3 separate regions of the Homo sapiens genome follow, and regions 1 and 2 are each linked to region 3. Evidence: promoter capture Hi-C in 16 types of primary human blood cells and fetal thymus (Javierre and others, 2016). All regions are on one chromosome and are shown on one strand. Each heading gives the region's core, a stretch centred on a gene start or on the middle of the fragment in contact. The rest is flanking DNA. Distances are from core to core; before and after follow the strand shown.

The links. The method cuts DNA at HindIII sites, captures the fragments that hold promoters and counts their contacts. A CHiCAGO score of 5 or more calls a contact.
Region 1: a fragment that was not itself captured here is called in contact with the fragment with the promoter of PCK2 in region 3 in 1 of 17 cell types (naive CD4 T cells); the score reaches 5.4 in naive CD4 T cells.
Region 2: a contact is called between a fragment that was not itself captured here and the fragment with the promoter of PCK2 in region 3, in 1 of 17 cell types (naive CD8 T cells). The highest score is 6.7, in naive CD8 T cells.

The regions. Positions count from the first base shown.
Region 1 is chr14:23,626,036-23,628,973 of GRCh38, reverse strand. No RefSeq gene overlaps it. Among named protein-coding and RNA genes, the nearest start is that of DHRS2, 8.9 kb to the left of the region's middle. The HindIII fragment of the contact is 1,108 bases long and covers 1,048-2,155 here.
Region 2 is chr14:23,601,277-23,604,097 of GRCh38, reverse strand. No RefSeq gene overlaps it. Among named protein-coding and RNA genes, the nearest start is that of JPH4, 24 kb to the right of the region's middle. RefSeq lists an enhancer at 1,444-1,738. The HindIII fragment of the contact is 5,671 bases long and covers 1-2,821 here.
Region 3 is chr14:24,092,666-24,095,642 of GRCh38, reverse strand. PCK2 (phosphoenolpyruvate carboxykinase 2, mitochondrial) reads right to left here and starts at 1,332. Exons shown (of 10, transcript NM_004563.4): 1 at 1,209-1,332. The coding sequence starts at 1,237. The region is part of intron 1 of NRL (neural retina leucine zipper); the gene reads left to right. RefSeq lists enhancers at 937-1,006, 660-1,309 and a silencer at 1,317-1,566. The HindIII fragment of the contact is 4,962 bases long and covers 1-2,977 here.

The DNA of each region.
Region 1 (2,938 bases), core at 352-2,851, 470 kb after region 3:
AGCTTGGATAATTGCTCTCAATTTGTCATCAGCTTCCAATGGCCAGCCACTATACTCCTCATCTTCAAGGCTCTCGTCTCCTTTGCAAAACTTCTTGAACCACCACTGCACTGTACATTTGTTAGCAGCTCCTGGGCCAAATGCATTGTTGATGATGTGAGTTGTCTGCACTGCTTTACAACCCATTTTGAACTCAAATAAGAAAATCGCTCAAATTTGCTTTTTGTCTAACACCATTTCCATAGTCTAAAATAAGTATAAAATAAACAGCAAGTAACAAGTCCTTAGCCAAAAAAAATGCAAAGCAAGAAATGCACATTAAAATGATATATAACATAAGCGCATATATATTTTTTTTCTCTTTTTTTTTTTTTTTTTTGAGACGGAGTCGCACTCTGTCGCCCAGGCTGGAGTGCAATGGTGTGACCTTGGCTCACCGCAAGCTCCGCCTCCTGGGTTCATGCCATTCTCCTTCCTCAGCCTCCTGAGTAGCTGGGACTACAGGGACCTGCCACCACACCCGGCTAATTTTGTTTTGTATTTTTAGTACAGATGGGGTTTCACCATGTTAGCCAGGATGGTCTCTATCCCCTGACCTCGTGATCCACCTGCCTTGGCCTCCCAAAATGCTGGGATTACAGGCGTGAGCCACCGTGCCCGGCCAACATAAGCATATTTATTTAAGAATGTATTCCAATATCAAACAGCAAATTTCAACAATGCAAAAACTGCAATTACGTTTGCACCAACCTAATAATTGAGTCACTCTTCAGCTGGGAGTGCGTTCTGTCCCTGATGTAATCTTTTGTTGCACAGAGAATTCCAGAGCTTTCTGGTCCCTATCAGGATCTGAGACCTAAAGATGTTACCACTAGGGAACATATGAGTCACATTGCACCAAAGTATGTTAGCAACAGCAAATCCATATGGGTCTGCAGCAACTTCAGTTTTTGCCTCTTCAGAAGAAAGAATTCGACTGAGGGGCACAAGGCAGAGTGAGAAACTGGGGGAACTTTTTGAACAGGAGTGAAAGTTTGTTAAAAAGCTTTAGTGCAGGAATGAAAGAAAGTAAAGTGCACTTAGAAGAGGGCCAAGCAGGTGACTTGAGAGATCAACTGCCCAGTTTGACCTTTGACTTGGTGTCTTATATGTTGCCAGGCTTCCAGGGTTGTGTTACTTCTCCCCTGATTCTTACCTTGGGCTGTCTGCATGCACAGTGGCCTGCCAGCACTTGGGAGGGGGCTGCATGCACAGTGTGTTTACTGGAGTTGTACACAGGCTCACTTGAGGCATTCTTCCTTTACCAGTCAAGTATTCCTAGAAGAAGGTCATATACTAAACTCCAACATTTTGCCTCTTGATGTAGCATGCTTGAGCCCACTCACCCAACTCCTGAGATCTTATCAAGAAGCTGCTGATCACCAGCTTCAGGTGTTTCTATCTATTGGGAGACAGCCTTTCCCTGGCATCAGCTGTGACCAATTATTATTTTAGAGAGACAGTATAACAACTGTCTGACCATCACCTGATGGTCTCCTGACATTCCTGAGTGGGGGGCCTCTCCTATCCTGTTCATGTCTACCTGACTACCTACTGTAAACACTTCCCCCATCAAGAGTTCATCCAAAACTCCCAATTCTTTGGGGAGAATGGACAAAGATCAGTCTTTTATAGCTACCTCCTGCTGACAGATGGGCAGTGGTGGTTGTTCTGTGAGTCTTGGCCTCTTGCTAGCTGTCAGGGCAGGGTGGCTCCATGGGTTGGTGAAAGCAGTATTCAGCCAGGTCCAAGGGAGGCAGGGGCAGAATTTCACCTCTGTTGTGTCCCACTGATGAGCATTCTAGGGGTCCTCTGTAGAAGGGTGACTCCTGAATATTGAGAGGATGGTATTCCTCACTGAGGATCATCTGGAGCTTGATGGCCCATCCTTCTTGTTTCTTCTGAGCTGCAGCCAGAGATCACTGGTTGGTTCACAGGAATAAGCAGGGTCAGTCTAAATTGTGGAGGAAAAAAACTCAAAAGCAACTGATAAGACTAGAATCTAATAACAGGTATACCATAGTTCTTGAAACATAATTTTTCTCTCTCTAATTTCCCTTTTTTTTTTTTACTAAAAACAAATCATGGTAGGACTGACTTATTTACAAAATAAGCTTTAGTCTTATTATACTCAGCCTGATTATTTACATAGAATACAGTAAAAATAATTATTTGCCATATAATCTCCTTTTAAAATGGGTTTTGATGAAACTGTTCCATGAGGAATCCCAGATAAGACTTTAAAGCCTTAAGACAAGCCATGGGTTTGTGCCATCAAATACCTGTATGAGTTGGGTGAATTCCTCTCCTCTAGAGGTCCCAAGATAACTTGAGGCTCCTGGACCTGTCAGAAAGTGACATTCTCTACTTACCACAAGTCAAGAACCCTGTACAAGAACTGTGTAGACAAGCTATGAGGGAAGTGTTCCCAAGGGGTTTTTATTGGCTCTGTAAGTCAAATTTGATTCCTTAAAGGAAAGCACACCATTCTAGTCAAAGCCTTGGTAAAATAATCAGTTTCTCCAATTGTGTCCTGTTGCAAAAGGAAACAGATTCTTATTGCACTTATGCAAACAACTATATTGCCATAACTTTAGAATACTCACAAATAGTTTCCAAATTCTAAAGAAATCACGTAGAAAGAAACAAACATGCTCCAAATTTTGCTTACAGCAGTATATTTTACTTAATTGTTAAAAGCTGTAAACAGCTCAGGAGAAAAGTTTTCTTGGCTCTGAAAAACAAAGGATCAGCAATGTTTTCAGCAAAAAGTCACAAAAGGATTATTTCAGTCTTCTATTAGTTCAGGCCATGCAATTAACTCCTATTCTGCTTGATATTCATGAATATTTCAGCTCTCCATGAGAGTCCTGAAAGTTTTTTCATCTATTCTAATGTC
Region 2 (2,821 bases), core at 222-2,721, 490 kb after region 3:
CACTCTTGTCACCCAAGCTGGAGTGCAATGGCGTGATCTCAGCTCACTGCAACCTCCGCCCCGCATGTTCAAGCGATTCTCCTGCCTCAGCCTCCTGAGTAGCTGGGGTTACAGGTGCGCACCACCACCCCCGGCTAATTTTTTTTGTATTTTTAGTAGAGACGGGGTTTCGCCATGTTGATCAGGCTGGTCTCTAACTCCTGACCTCGTGATCCACCCGCCTCGGCCTCCCAAAATGCTGGGATTACAGGCCTGAGCCACCACACCTGGCACATGACACCCTTTTTAACGGTAAGAAAAACTGAGTTTCAGTGAGGTTGCACAACATTCCCAAAGACACACAAGCTACAACCTGGCAGGGTCCTCCTGACTCCAGAGCCTGCTCAGATGTCCCAGAAAGAACCCCCCAGGAGCCTCATTAGGGGCCCCAGTGGCCTGTGAAGAACTGGTGGATAAACTCAGACCTAACACCAAAGCTGTGTCTAGAGAGGCAACTGCAGTCTAGAGAAGATAGGTTACTGACCTAAGAAACCACAAATTTCACCTTTGCTTCCTCTCCATCAGGTACCCCAGGCCTTCTGACTTTCCCACCCTAAAGCCCATCAGATCCCAAACCTATTTGACATGGTTTCTTTTTTTTCTTTTCTTTTAATAAAAACATTATGAACCTCTAAATCTACTTTAAGACATGGTATCTAATTAGCATAAATGCATTCCAAAGGGTGGGTGGTTCCAGCCCAGATGGGCTTCCAGATGGGCCTCTTTCCTCTAACTGCTGGTCCTTTGGGCACCCCTCCCACCAATACCTCCCTTCCCTTCTGACCAAATTCCGCTTTCCAGAGCCTGGCTCAAGTCAGGAACAGTCCTCTGGTCCCAGCACAGTTCTGCAGAGCTCCTGCACCCCACCTACCCTCCCCTGCCGGCCTCCTCCCTGCCCACTGTGGCCATTTGGCTACAGTAGCTTGAGCTTTGAATTTCAGGACAAATCTAGAAAACCAGGGATCGAATACCTAGGCTCTGGCAACCCAGTGGGGTCTCAGGTGGGGCTAGCAGCCCCCAGTGTTACGTGACAGCCTGTAGCTTTTTAGTCATCACTGTCAGGCTTTTGCATAGCACTGGGAATGGGTCCCTGCCCTCTAGGGCCTAGGGGTCGGGTGCGGGCAGAACAACCACAGATGAGACAATGTAAGAAACTCCTGAGATGCAGAGGAACCAAGTCCTGTGGGATTCCAAAGGGGAGAGCCACTAGTTCTGCTGGGAGAGTGATCCAGAAACTGGTGAGAATGTGGTGGGAAAGAGGGGTACTCACAGGTAAGCTCACGGAGACGAGAGCACAGGAGTCAGATCTGAACGAGGGCAAGGACCAGAGGGCCCTGGTGCGTCATCATTCAAGGCAAAAATGGTCAGAAGTCTTTCCAAAGTTGTTCAGGGTCTCCTGCAGAGGGTTTGGGGCCCATCCTACCACTGCCAACCCCTCAACCATCCTTCCTGTCCACAGCCTGAGGTCACCATGGTCACTGATGTCTGAAGGCCAGAAATAGAAATGAGTCACTTGGCCTTCTAATGTGCTTTATCTAATGTTTGCTTTATTGAAGATGAAACAGTCGCCTTTTGCAGTGGGAGCCTCACTAGGCACCTGAGCTGCTGCATGTGGTGTCTGGGTCTCAGTATTCATGTAATGCCTGCATGTTCTTTCTGCTATAAAACAGGGTCACACTACCTCTTCAGTTCAGCCCCGAGACTTTGCTCTGTCAGGGGAGGGGTGCCGGGATCACCACTAAATATTAGTGCAGTTAAAGTTACCCTACTCTTCTTTTCCTGTAGCTTATCATCAAGGAGACACAGTAGTGGTTGAAGGTGAAGGGAAGCCCACCTCCAAGAATGCGAGTATGACCTTAGACATGCACCCCAGAGGAAAGAATGCCCACAGTCACTCTGAACGTATTCAGGGCAGCTCCTGTGCCAGCATAAGCAGAGTGCTGGTCAAGCAGGAAGAGACCTGTCAATACCAGTGAGCAGGAGGTCAGTACAAAAGAGGTCTGGCTGTTGATGTCAGGGACCCACAAGCAAGAGCCTCAGTCATTATGTGATCTGGAGCATGAAACCACAAGGTCAGATTCAGTGGCACAAAAGAGCCCCAGGATCATCTCAAGACCAGCAGCCACATGGCCTTGAAGCCAAACTATCAAATTACTCCTGTAGGCTCCTTCCATCCACTGGGTAGGAGCAGGATGCCCCCTGAGAATCAAGGACAGAGGAGATGGTAGAATGGTGTCATTAGGAAGATATTCCTGACAGGGTAACAGAGTGTCTTAGTCTGTCCAGTCTGCTATAACCAAGTATCACAGATTGGGTGGCCTACAAACAACAGAAATTTGTTTCTTACAGTTCTGGAGGCTGGAAGTCCAAGATCAAGTTGCCAGCAGACTCTGTGTCTGGTGAGAGCACACTTCCTGGTTCACAGATGGCACCTTCTCATTATGTCTTCCCATGGTAGAAGAGGCAAGGCAGCTCTCTGGGATGGCTACATTCTTATCCCTAATCACCTCCCAAGCCCCTCCTCCTAATACCACCAGGAGATTGGAGATGAGGTTTTAACATATGAATCTGAGGTGGACACATTCAGACCATAGCACACAGCCATACAGAAAAAGAGCTGGGTGGCTGGGGCAAGTCTTCCCAGGAGGAGAGAAAGCTACAGGTATGATTAGAGTGAAGAGAGGGAGGCTGGCTGCATGCTTCACCCAGTTCATCTCCCACCAAGGACAGGGTTGGGGGGAATCTACAAAGAAAAGTTTGTAATGAGGCAACATGTGCAGTG
Region 3 (2,977 bases), core at 83-2,582:
ACCCAGGACCACGTGACCCCGTGCTTCCCCTGGCTCTTCTTCCTAGAGGCCACATGCCTAGAGAGCTTTGGTGTTGGTGGGAGGGTGGAACAGCAGCTTGCTGGCAGCTCAGACTCAGAGGGTGTTAGCCTGGGGAAGGAAGAAAGCTCAGAGCATGGATACGGGAGCTTGAGTCTGTCTGGGGTAGAAGCTGGGGTGGTTTCCGCTAAAGCAGGATAGATGATCAGTGTGGCCCCAGGGGCAGGGGAGGAGGGCTACTGGGACCTGGGTCTGTTCCTGCCTCAGAGGGAAGTTCTCCGTGAGCATCAGTTTTCAAGCACACAGTCTTGAGGACAGCCTCTCTCTCCCTGGAGCCTGGCTCACGTTATCTCTTGTGAAGCCCCCACACCCTCTTGCAGCCCTCTAAGTGGGACGTTTCCTTCAGAGACCACCCACAAGGGCTGCCCAAGTGGAACGGGCTGTGCGACAGATGTGGGTCACTTCCGACTCTGGGACAAAAGCTGAGAAGAGAGGCCTCAGAGAATAAATAGGAGACTAAGAGGACAGGCAGACAAACAGGACGAGCCTGGGGGCTCCAGGCCTGGACGGAGGAAGAAGCCAGCTATGTAAGAAACGAAGGCAACTTGGCGCCCTCCTCCCACCTTGCTTGCCTCCCTCCCCTGGGCCCAGGTCCCTCGGGCTGCTCTGGACTTCCCGCCAGGTTCCAGTCCTTCCAGTCCGGGAGAGGCCGGGAATGGATATTTAACCTTCCACCTTCTTTAGGGGGCTCTGAGCTTAGTCTCCCGGGGCTCACGTACCCTTGTCCCCAGGGCCCTGCTGCCTCTCGAAGTACCCTGGGGCGCTGGCTGAGAGCCCGTTAGAGGTCCGAGGGAGGTATCTGGGAAGGAAAGGAGGATATGCGGAGACCTGGCTCAGCAGAGAGGAGCGAGGAGAGAGAGGAAGTTCTGAGAGTGGCAGATAGAGATCGCGCGGTCAGAGGCGAGCGAGGCAGAGAAGGGGAGGTGCAGGCGGAAACGAGGAGCACCGGCCGGCTGCCCTCCCAAGAGACGCGCGGCGCGGGAGGCTGGACCCACAGCAGTCGCCCCTGCCCGCCTCCGCCTAGGATGGGAAACCTGGCGGAGGCTGAGAGCAGGAGAGCGCCACTGGCAGCCCCGAGGGGGCGAGCGCAGCGGAAGGTGCGGGTGGGCCCCGGGCCGGGGGTCACTCACCGCAGGCCAGGGCGGTACAATGCGGCCATGGCACCTGGGCAGGGGCTGCGGGGTGGCCAGGAACCGAGCGGAGCCGGGGAGGTATGGAAGGCGGGGAAGGAGGGAGCGCGGCGAAGCGAGCCACAGCAGAGGCTGGCGGGAGGCGCTTAAAAAGGAGGGGGGCAGGCGCGGGGGCGGAACCTGGTAGGGCTGGCACTAGCTTTCCTCCGCCCCGCTGGCAGGCCAGCTCCCTCGGCCCCGGGGCTCCAGGCTCCAGGTCAGCCCAGCCGCCGCCCCAACCCCTGCCTCCAAACCGCCAAACCCATCTCTCCCATTGGAGGACTGGGTCCACTCTTCGGCCCCCGACTTCGAGGCCCCGCCCCCCATCCGCCACCGCCCTCCCAGCCGCACATGATGTAACTTTGAGGACTCTTGCTCCCGGGAGAGACACTAGGTGGCAAACAAGCTAGGAACGAGGGGCGAGGCCAGGGGCGGGAGACTACAGGGGCCAGACGTCTAGAAGTTAGGGGGTTGGGCATTGCCTTTCCAGTTCCTCCTCCTGGGGACGCGACACCCTGAGTCCTGGGCCTTTCTGTAGTCCAAGTGCCCAATGCTAAGGTCCACTTAGTCCCCAACTCCTAAATCCCCGTTTCTCCTCCTGATCAAGGCTCCTTTCTGCCTTGCCATGAAATGGTGGAGTCTCTCTACCCCTGGGTCTCTTCCTTGGTCCTCTGATCTGGTCATTCTCCTCCCCCGGCACATCCCCTCTTCCCCTGACGGAGTCTTACTCTGTCACCCAGGCTGGAGTGCGTGCAGTGGCGCGATCTCGGCTCACTGCACACTCCGCCTCCCGGGTTCAAGCAATTCTCCTGTCTCAACCTGCAGAGTAGCTGGAATTACAGGCGCCTGCCACCACACTCGGCTGATTTTTTGTATTTTTTGTAAAGACGGGGTTTCTCCATGCTGGCCAAGCTGGTCTCCAACTCCTGACCTCGTGATCCGCCTGCCTTGGCCTCCCAAAGTGCTGGAATTTACAGGCGTGAGCCACCACGCCCGGCCTGGTCATTCTTTCTCTCCACAATCCAATGAGGAAACTCATCTGCCCACCCAACTACCATCATAAAGTCCTCAGGTGATTTCTCAAGCTATACCTCCATTGGGACATCTCTCTCCAACCTGAGACCACTGGATATCACCCACAATGCTATATAGCACCTCAAACTCAGCATATCTATGATGGGTGTCTGCTCAGCATCCACTCGCCTTTTCTGGTAATAGCACCCTGATTTTCTTTTGGGGAACCATCTCCTCAGTCTGTATTGTCATGTGGGTCTGATGTCACCCCTCTTGGGGGTAGGCTTGCAGCTTAGCCAACTTTTGTGTTCCTCACTCTGGCCACAGCAATCAAGGATGTTCAAGGATGGGCATGAGATCCCTCTCTGGGACTTTTTCTAAAACTTTGGAAGTTAGCTCTCTTTCTGCTGAGTTGCTGAGCTGGTAGAATATAAGCCTGGAGCTGCTGAGTGTTAGCTTGGCACTGCAAAGCAGGAACCTGGCTGAGACAGAAGCCAGCCTAGAGGAAGCAGAGCAGGGAGATGGCGAGCAATGGATTCCTGATTTCAGTTACAGGAATTGATGCATTTCTTCTCTTGCTCAAGCTAATTTTAATTGGAGTTCTGCCACTTGCAACAGAAACAGTCTTGATTCTCAGATTTCTTGGAGTTCTATGCTGGAACATAGTGGGATAAGGAGAGCTGGTCTCCAGCCACGGGCTTGCTACTGGTCCCCGT